3 separate regions of the Homo sapiens genome follow, and all the other regions are linked to region 3. Evidence: promoter capture Hi-C in human tissues and cell types (Jung and others, 2019). All regions are on one chromosome and are shown on one strand. The core of a region is centred on a gene start or on the middle of the fragment in contact, and the rest is flanking DNA. Distances in the headings are between cores, read along the strand shown. Region 1 overlaps C8orf34 (chromosome 8 open reading frame 34). Region 2 overlaps PREX2 (phosphatidylinositol-3,4,5-trisphosphate dependent Rac exchange factor 2). Region 3 holds the start of C8orf34 (chromosome 8 open reading frame 34).

Region 1 (2,700 bases), core at 130-2,629, 160 kb before region 3:
ATATCTAATATCAATATATTATCAACACAAGAATCTAATATTGATAGATATAATCTTTATAAATCAAGACTCTTTGGGGTCCTCTCCAATTTTTAACAATGTAAAGGGCTTTTGAGACTAGAAAAATGAGAATATGTTTAGTTATAAATCAAATCTCTCTCATAAGCAACAACTCATATAAACATGTTTAATAGGCAATTCAAAATAAACAATCTAAATGAGAACTCTTAATGTTATCCAAACCTGACAAATTTGATTTTTTCCTAGTTTTTCTAATTTTAGTAAGCAGTACCACAATTGACCTAGTTGCTCATCTCCCAAACCTAGCAATCCATCATTGACTGATTTGTTCTGCAATTCCCCACATCCAATCCATTAGCAAGTTCCAGTGACACAACTATAGAAATATATTTCTAACCACACCACTTCTCACCACCATCATAACTACTACCCCACTTCAAAGTACCATCATAGTCTCTTGGCATCTCGGAAAATTAAAATAAACAAACAAAAAGCTTTATTGGTAAGGTTTCCAAAGAGGAGCTATCAAAAAATACAATGTTTTCCATATCATTATCATTTAGATACAAGTGGAATAAAATAATTTACATAATATAGTGTTATGAAGTTATTTTGCAATATAGTGATTCAGTGATTACAGTGATTCCATTTTCTCTAACCAAATTCTAAAGGCCTTGACTCAAAAGAGTAGGTGATATATATATTTAATGGAATAGCTTTCATAAAACAATATGCATTTAACTTTCAAAGTTTTAAAATGTTAGCCCAAATAAATTATACTTGAACATTTTATGTTTCAGAAAATTTATTTATGTTGAGACAGTGGAATAAAAGGTAAGTTCTACATTTTCTTTTCACCAGATGTATAGTTCAACTTACCTTATCGAGTTCATCTGAAATTGCAATACCTGGGATTTAAAAGAGATTTATAAAAAAAAGTTTTAGAAGCAATCTTTAGTAACCTAATGTTCAAAACAAACTTTCTATTTGTAAAAGTAGTGCATTTCCTATTCTATTTGTTTTCTTTTTATTAGTGCTTCAAAATAATGTGGCACATCCTTTTACCAATGAAAACAAATTAGGAATTTAAGTCAATTATGACAGCCATGAACTGCTGAAGCAATGCAAATGATGCAACAAAAACAAAGCAGCGCCATATTCCTTGCAGGTGGTTAAAGGCAGAACAAACTTGCGAATGTAATTGTAGAGATATCATTTTTATGTTATGATGACAATAAAGTATAATTTAGCCTGTTACTATTTTGCTCCTTGTTAAGAATTTAGATTCCCAGAATAATTAGATATTAAGGCAGAATGGTGGTCCAAGATGACTTATTCTAATGTCTTTAGTTTGTGGATGAGGAAATAGATGAGAAAGTTTAAGGAATTTTCCCACAGTCCCTCAGATTGACAGCTCCTCGAGCCAATGCGTAAATGATTCTTCATCACAAGTTCCTTCCCCCACCATCCACATATTTCTCACTGCACATCAGTATAATTTCTATCTTTATCCTTTCTCCAAAATTATTCTAAGTCAGCAATGTAAAAAGTTTAGTCCTTAACTTATTTCTCTGTGATGATACACTATCAATTCCACTTTACTGAAATGCTGTCCTCTCTTTTCTGTTCTCCTTTGTCTCCTTCACAGGAATTCCCTTTTTTGCAGGGATAGGGGTCCTTTCCTGAAATGGCAAGGGCTCTTTGTTGAGCTGTCTTTTCTTCTCATTTGATATACTTCTCTTGATAATCTACCCCATACCTTTGATATTTTTATTTCTCTATATGGCACATCTTTACTGCCAGCACAGACTTTCTTCCTGAGCTAATTGTTGAATTCTTGTGGGCATTCCATTATCAACTTGTCAGACTAAAGACATCATCCTCCTCAACTCACTCTGCGTTTTATTCTTTTGAACAATGGGGCTAAACTTCAGCACTGTGGCAGGGCGCTGGAGCAGGTGTGGCCAGCTCTCACATTCAGGGCACAGAGCAAAGGGGGGTTGGTGTCAAACCCCTGTAGGGAACGAGCCAAGAGATAAGGAAAGGTCTAAAGTTTGAAGCCCAGGAGAACTTGGAGAAAATAAGAATAGGAATTGAAGCTGAAGTTCAGCAGACTACAAAGAACAAGAAAGAATGAGCTGGGTTGGAAGAAAGAACCTGAAAGCAGCCTCAGGACAATGAACCTCAGTAGAAAGAGTGAGTTACAGGGTTCAGATCCCCTGCCTGCCTCGGGTATAGATGTGGAGGGTATAAATGATATTTCATTAGTTCTTATATCATCTCCCACACCACTAACCTAATGAATCAATTATACACAAAGCTGAAAAAGTACGCACAACTTCATCTCAGTAAATGACACCATTGTAGATCCCCTTGTAGATGACACTAGAAACACAGGTACATTTGGGGCTTATTCTTCAATATTTTATAAAATTCTTTTTTTGGTAGAAGTCATTGGTAACTAAGAATTTTTATGTGTCACATCAAAAGAGAGTCTAACTACCATTTCAGGGATTTGGGGTGACCAAAGCTTAACAATTATTCAAGGACTTGCTGTATTATGAAGGTAGTGCCTTCAAACAGTTAAAGGAGAAAAAGCTTTAAGGAGGGCTGGCATTGGAGCTGGGCTGTATCACTGCTGAGTGAACCGTGATGGAGAACTCAGATATGACAGCACCA
Region 2 (2,700 bases), core at 118-2,617, 140 kb after region 3:
TCATTTATAATTTGAGGAAAGCATTAGCTTCTACTTCATAAGACTGCCAAGATTAAATGAGTTAATGCAGATAAAATATGTAGAACAGTGCACAGCACAGAATAAGTGCTTATTAATATTTATAATGATCAATATTATTAAAAAGTTGAAGAAATACATTTTTGTGACTATTGAAGAACGTTATCCAATTTTCATTTATTGTGAGAAAGATTATGGAACGAAGGCTCATAAAAACCTAACTTTAAACAACACTGAGGCGATTCTTTCCAGCACCAAGTTATGCTCCGATTAGAAGTGAAACTCTCTCTAAGGGTTCAATGGCTCTTTTTTATTACCAGGATACAATATGGTAATGACTATTTCAACACACAAAGTGGAATCCTAGTGGCCTAATACACTTTGTGCAAAAAACAAAGGACACACTGCAAAGGATATGATCTCATTCTATTTTATGGCTGTATAGTATTTCATGCCATTTTGTGTATTAAAATAGCCATTTTAATATGCAAAGTGGAATCCTAGTGGCCTGCAATAATTACAGCAATTTCCAAATAATTATCGCTGTGTTTGCTTTGCTTGTGGCTCGATACTAAACAGAAATTTTAAGGGAATCATCTATGGAGATAAAATAGTTACATTTTATTTGATCTAGTATCTATTTTTTTTAGTGATGGTAAAATGTATACAGTATAATACAAAATTTAGCATTTTAACCATTCTTTTAATTTATTTTAGATTCAGAGGGTATACATACATGTTTTTTACATGGATATATTACATAATGGTGGGATTTGGGCTTCTACTGTACCCATCACTCAAATAGTGACCATTGTACCCAATAGGTAAGTTTTCAACCCTCATCCCCTTCCTACCTCTCCACAAGTGGGAAGAGGTGGGAAGGGGGTTGTGAAAAGTGTGTATTGCTTTTCAACCCTCAGTATCTATTGCTTCTATCTCTGTGTAAGTGGGAACATATGGTATTAAATTTTCTGTTTCTGAGTTATTTCACTTAGGATAATGCCTCCAGCTCCATCCATGTTGCTACAAGGCACATAATCTCATTGTTTTTTACAGCTGCATATTATGCCGTTTTGAGCATTCTCAAGCATACAGTTCAATGGCATTAAATACATTCAAATTCACCATCTAGTATCTATTTTTGATGAGGTGACAAACTTCACATTTCTAGAATGTGACATTTTAATGTCGGTGGAACAAAATAAGTCCCATGATATTAGAGTGAGTTGTCATATTAGATATTCAAATAAAAGCTGATTATATTGTTGTTTCAGAGCATCTGTAGGACTTCAAAGTGTTGGTAAATTATTATCAAATTCACAGTATAATTGGGCAAAATCAGTGAGCGACAACGCTATACCCTGTGTGGGATTTTTGAGTCCCACTGAACATATGTGTTCACACCCACACACAGTGATATTCCCATTACTAGCAATAGTGTTTTGTCTTTTTAAAATAAAGTAACATGGATTATTCAAGCTTTACACTTTAAATTATGAATGCTTTAGCTCTAAAGACTAATTTCCAAAATGACAATTATGCTCATCTTTATTGAGAAGCAGTTCCTTCTTGTCTAAAATACATATTGAATCCTCCTCAAAAAGTTTTGTAAACAACTCAGCATCCAAGATTGGCTGTTACTCATTATAACTCTCTTTGCATTCCTAAGAGATTTCCAGGTACCATCTGCAGTTCCCTCAGCCTAAGCACATAACACTGATGGGAGTGTGGGGGCTACAGCAACCCCAGGCAGCAACCCACCAGACTGGGTCATGGTGACATGAGCCACTGCAAAGTGGAACATCCATCAAGTGCCATGAAATACAGTTCTAACTAGCTGAGTGAATTAGTGTCTATAAAAGCACTAGATCAAGAGCAAAATAAAAGACTGAGGGATTATTTCCATGATGAAAATCAAAGGTCTCATTTGAGACATCATTTTAAAATTTTCAAGATTTTCCCCAGTATCTGAAAGAGATATAATCTGAGAGGAGTGCTGTCATCATAAAAGGAAATGAGCTTGAATTGTGTGAGGAACATGCAATGGGGCAGGAGCTGGGGCAGAGTGAAAGAGCAAGTTAGGCCAGAGAGGTAGACCCCAGGACCTTACAGGCCCTGATAAGGTTTTACCCTAAGCAAGTTGGGAGCCACAGAGGTAAATGGCCATGGAACTTGCCTCATTGCCAGAAGACTGGACGTTTTAAATATTATTGCTATGTCCAACAATTCATGTTCTACTGAAAGGTCTGTGTGTCCTTTCACGTCAATTGTACAGGTACTTATGTAGGATTAAACTGTGAAAACCCACTTATGCACCATGCTTTAACAAGTCTGAGCATTTTGTTCTTTTGCTTCACCTTTTAAATAAATAAAATATTACAAATACAGTGGAAGCCTCCTGTTCACCTATTCTTATTTCATTTCTGCCACTAAAATGTAAACTCCCCACTAGAATGCAAATCCTCTAGTAGCTAAGGATTTTATTTATTTTTATTCATTTCTGCATCTCTAGCACCTGTAATAGTATGTGGAACATAGTATGATCTTAATAAATATTTGTAAATAAATAATAACTTGACATTTTTGTTTCTTTATGGATGGCTGATATGGTTTGGCTGTGTCCCCATCCAAGTCTCACTGAATTGTTATAATCCTCACGTGTCAAGGGTGGGGCCAGATGGA
Region 3 (2,700 bases), core at 72-2,571:
GCAAGGGCCTCCACTTCTGACTACGGTCCGCACGCCCCACCCCTGCTCAGCACCCTGGCAACCCGCGGGACGCTTTGCTGGTGCCAGGCTTCAATCTCTTGTTCTCATTTTCTCGTGTCCTCGCGCTCTTCCTTCTACTGTATTTTTGTCTTAAATTCTTTAATGGCGAGAGAGAGAAAAAAAAACAAAACCAGCTCAGAGCTATAGTCTTCTTCCACAAATACGTGTGTGCTTTTCAGAACCTTTCTCCGTCCCTTTCTCCTGCTAACACATGTGGGGTCTGCAGTGCAAAGGACTCTCCTTTCGTCCAGTGACCAAATGGCAGTCTCTCAGTTTGCCAATTTCATTCATCACGCCCGCACCGACTGAAGCCTACTCCTCACCAGTTCAGCTGTCTTCCAGTTAATTGTATTAACTGCTAAGCACCTCCTCCACCTTTTCGGGTTCTATTACCGCCCTCATTAAAAAAAAAAAAAAAAAAAAAAAAAAAAAGAAGGAAAGAAAAGAAAAGAAAAAAGAAAATCCAACACGAACACTCAAGATAGCGTGAATTCAAAAAAGAAAGTGTGCGTGTGCAACACAGTCTGAGTGTGTGCATCCGTATGCGTCGCCTGCCTCAGCCTGCCCGGGTCCTGAACATGTAGCTGAGAGGTGCAGGACAGTCAGAGGGCCAAAACTTCCCCTGCCAGGCTGAGGCTGGGCCCTCCCGAGCTCACCTGTCCGCGTTCAGGTAACTGGCTAAGTGCCCGCCCGGCCGCGTTCCAGGACACCTGGCCGGGACAGAGCGAATGCCAGTGAATCCCAGGGCGCCCTCTCCCGCGCGTTGGTTCTCTAGCCCTCCTTCCCTGGGAGGGGTGGGATTGGGAGTGTTCTGTTTTCATTACTGCACCCCTTCCCCTAAAGACAACGGGACTGCCCTCCTCCACAGCGCCTTACCTCAAACAGGGGACCGATCTTGTTCTTCTCCAGGTAAGCCTGGATCCGGGTTTGCGGATGAGACGCCATGGGGAACAGATGGGACCGCGAAGAGAGTGCAGGGAGAACGCGCGGCTGTGCGCCTCCGCTGGGGACAACCCTCCTTTTACCCGGACTGGGGCCGGGACAGGAGCTCCGGAGCCTCGGCTGCCCTGCGTGGCTGGCTCGGCCCCGGCCGCGGGCGTGGGTGGCAGCCCGGGGAGCCACGCGCGCGTGGGGCGCTGAGAGCCGGAAGCCTGGGCGCAGCGCCGCCAACTCAGACAACTCCGAGGCGAGGGGAGAACTCATTCATCGCGTTCTCCGCCTCGCGCCCACCCTCGCCGCTCTCCGCAGCGCCCGGCGCAGTGGGGAAATTCGAGGCAGAGGTTCCTTTCTCCTCTGGGCGGCAGCAGCAGGAATCAGGGGGCGGGAGGCGAGCTGTGTCGAGGGGCGCACGCGGGCGGACAGGGGCCGCGGGGCTCGAACTCGCCACCGGTGTGTGTGCGTGCGTGCGTGTGTGTGTGTGTCCGTGCGCGCGCGACTGTGTGTACCTCCTTTCCCCGGTGACGGAACAAACAGCCCGGGCTGCTCCCCGAGGCTGCTCGCCCTACCAGCCGCTCCCTAGCGACAGCGCCGCTTAAAAAGCCAATGGTGAAGGTGCTTCTTTCAAAGTGCACATAAATCTGGTGCTTGTTGGCTACTCCTTGGCAGCTACAAATGCAGTTCGAAAGGGGATCGTCCCCACCGCCCCTTCTGAGCCTCTCCTCAGCACCTTCTGCCCTGCCTACTCTAGCGCAGGGGTTGAGAAGGGCAGAGTTTTGAGAAGGTGCGTGGGTTTAAGGGTTTGCCGCGAAAAAGAAGTTGCCTTCCTTTTCAAAATCTGGTTTGGCCTGGAGCAAGTCGACGGGTGAACGCAGCCTGAGAACCCAGCTGAAAACTCTCAAAGTGCAGGAGCTCAAAGGCTGGAACCAGCCTTTCAGCATTTGACAGGGAGAAGAGAAATGAGCGAGCCAGCCCTCCCCTCCAAAGTTGGCCTTCCTAATCCACGCCTTGAGTCATGTCTGTATACCTATAACTGCATCTCAGACACCACACTATCCCACTTCATAATGTTTCCTCTAGATACTGCGTGAGCTGCTCAAATTTAGCCAATACCTTTCTTATTATGCAGGGATTTCCGAGTCGAAGGTTTGCAGATAGCCCAGGCTTCCTCACAGAGCTCTCTTTCTTGTGAAATACAATACTAAGGTCCCAATGACAATTTCCCTGGCTCCTAACCATGATGTGCTGCCAAAATTAGATTTATTTCTAATAAATATAAATTTTCAGAATGATGGAAACAGTTTTCCTAAAAGCTGACTGCAGCAGTATATATTTTTTTCTTTCTTTCTTCACTGTGTTCTGGATTTCTGTTACTCATAGTTTCTTTATTGGTGTTCATGTTTTCCTTCTGTATTTTAAATATGTGGAAACATGTAATAGATAAGTGTGGAATATCCCAGGAACTATTATTAATTTCATGCATTAAGACATAAGAAATCTGCTAGAATAGCTAGGAGCTTAACCATCCCTGATAACCTGAAATGGACTTGATCCAGAGTGGAAAGATGTCCACATTAATACTTTTACAATCGGACTCATATGATCTGCCTAGGGAGGGTTAAGTTAAATAGCAGTGAGGTGTCCAGGGTTGCCTCGTGCTTTCCATTTTGGTTCGAAGGTATATTTACTTATGTATTTTTTAAT

Evidence for each region. Contacts are between HindIII fragments. The study calls those that stand out against the background at their distance.
Region 1: a fragment that was not itself captured here is called in contact with the fragment with the promoter of C8orf34 in region 3 in 2 of the 25 tissues and cell types used here (aorta and dorsolateral prefrontal cortex).
Region 2: a contact is called between a fragment that was not itself captured here and the fragment with the promoter of C8orf34 in region 3, in 1 of the 25 tissues and cell types used here (hippocampus).

The regions. Positions count from the first base shown.
Region 1 is chr8:68,486,252-68,488,951 of GRCh38, reverse strand. C8orf34 (chromosome 8 open reading frame 34) reads right to left here. Exons shown (of 14, transcript NM_052958.4): 5 at 901-929. Among named protein-coding and RNA genes, the nearest start is that of C8orf34-AS1, 160 kb to the right of the region's middle. The HindIII fragment of the contact is 4,532 bases long and covers 1-2,700 here.
Region 2 is chr8:68,188,778-68,191,477 of GRCh38, reverse strand. The region is part of intron 35 of PREX2 (phosphatidylinositol-3,4,5-trisphosphate dependent Rac exchange factor 2); the gene reads right to left. Among named protein-coding and RNA genes, the nearest start is that of C8orf34, 140 kb to the left of the region's middle. The HindIII fragment of the contact is 3,785 bases long and covers 1-2,700 here.
Region 3 is chr8:68,329,576-68,332,275 of GRCh38, reverse strand. C8orf34 (chromosome 8 open reading frame 34) reads right to left here and starts at 1,321. Exons shown (of 14, transcript NM_052958.4): 1 at 937-1,321. The coding sequence starts at 1,263. It overlaps C8orf34-AS1 (C8orf34 antisense RNA 1), which reads left to right and starts at 785. Exons shown (of 3, transcript NR_038877.1): 1 at 785-969. The HindIII fragment of the contact is 5,240 bases long and covers 1-2,700 here.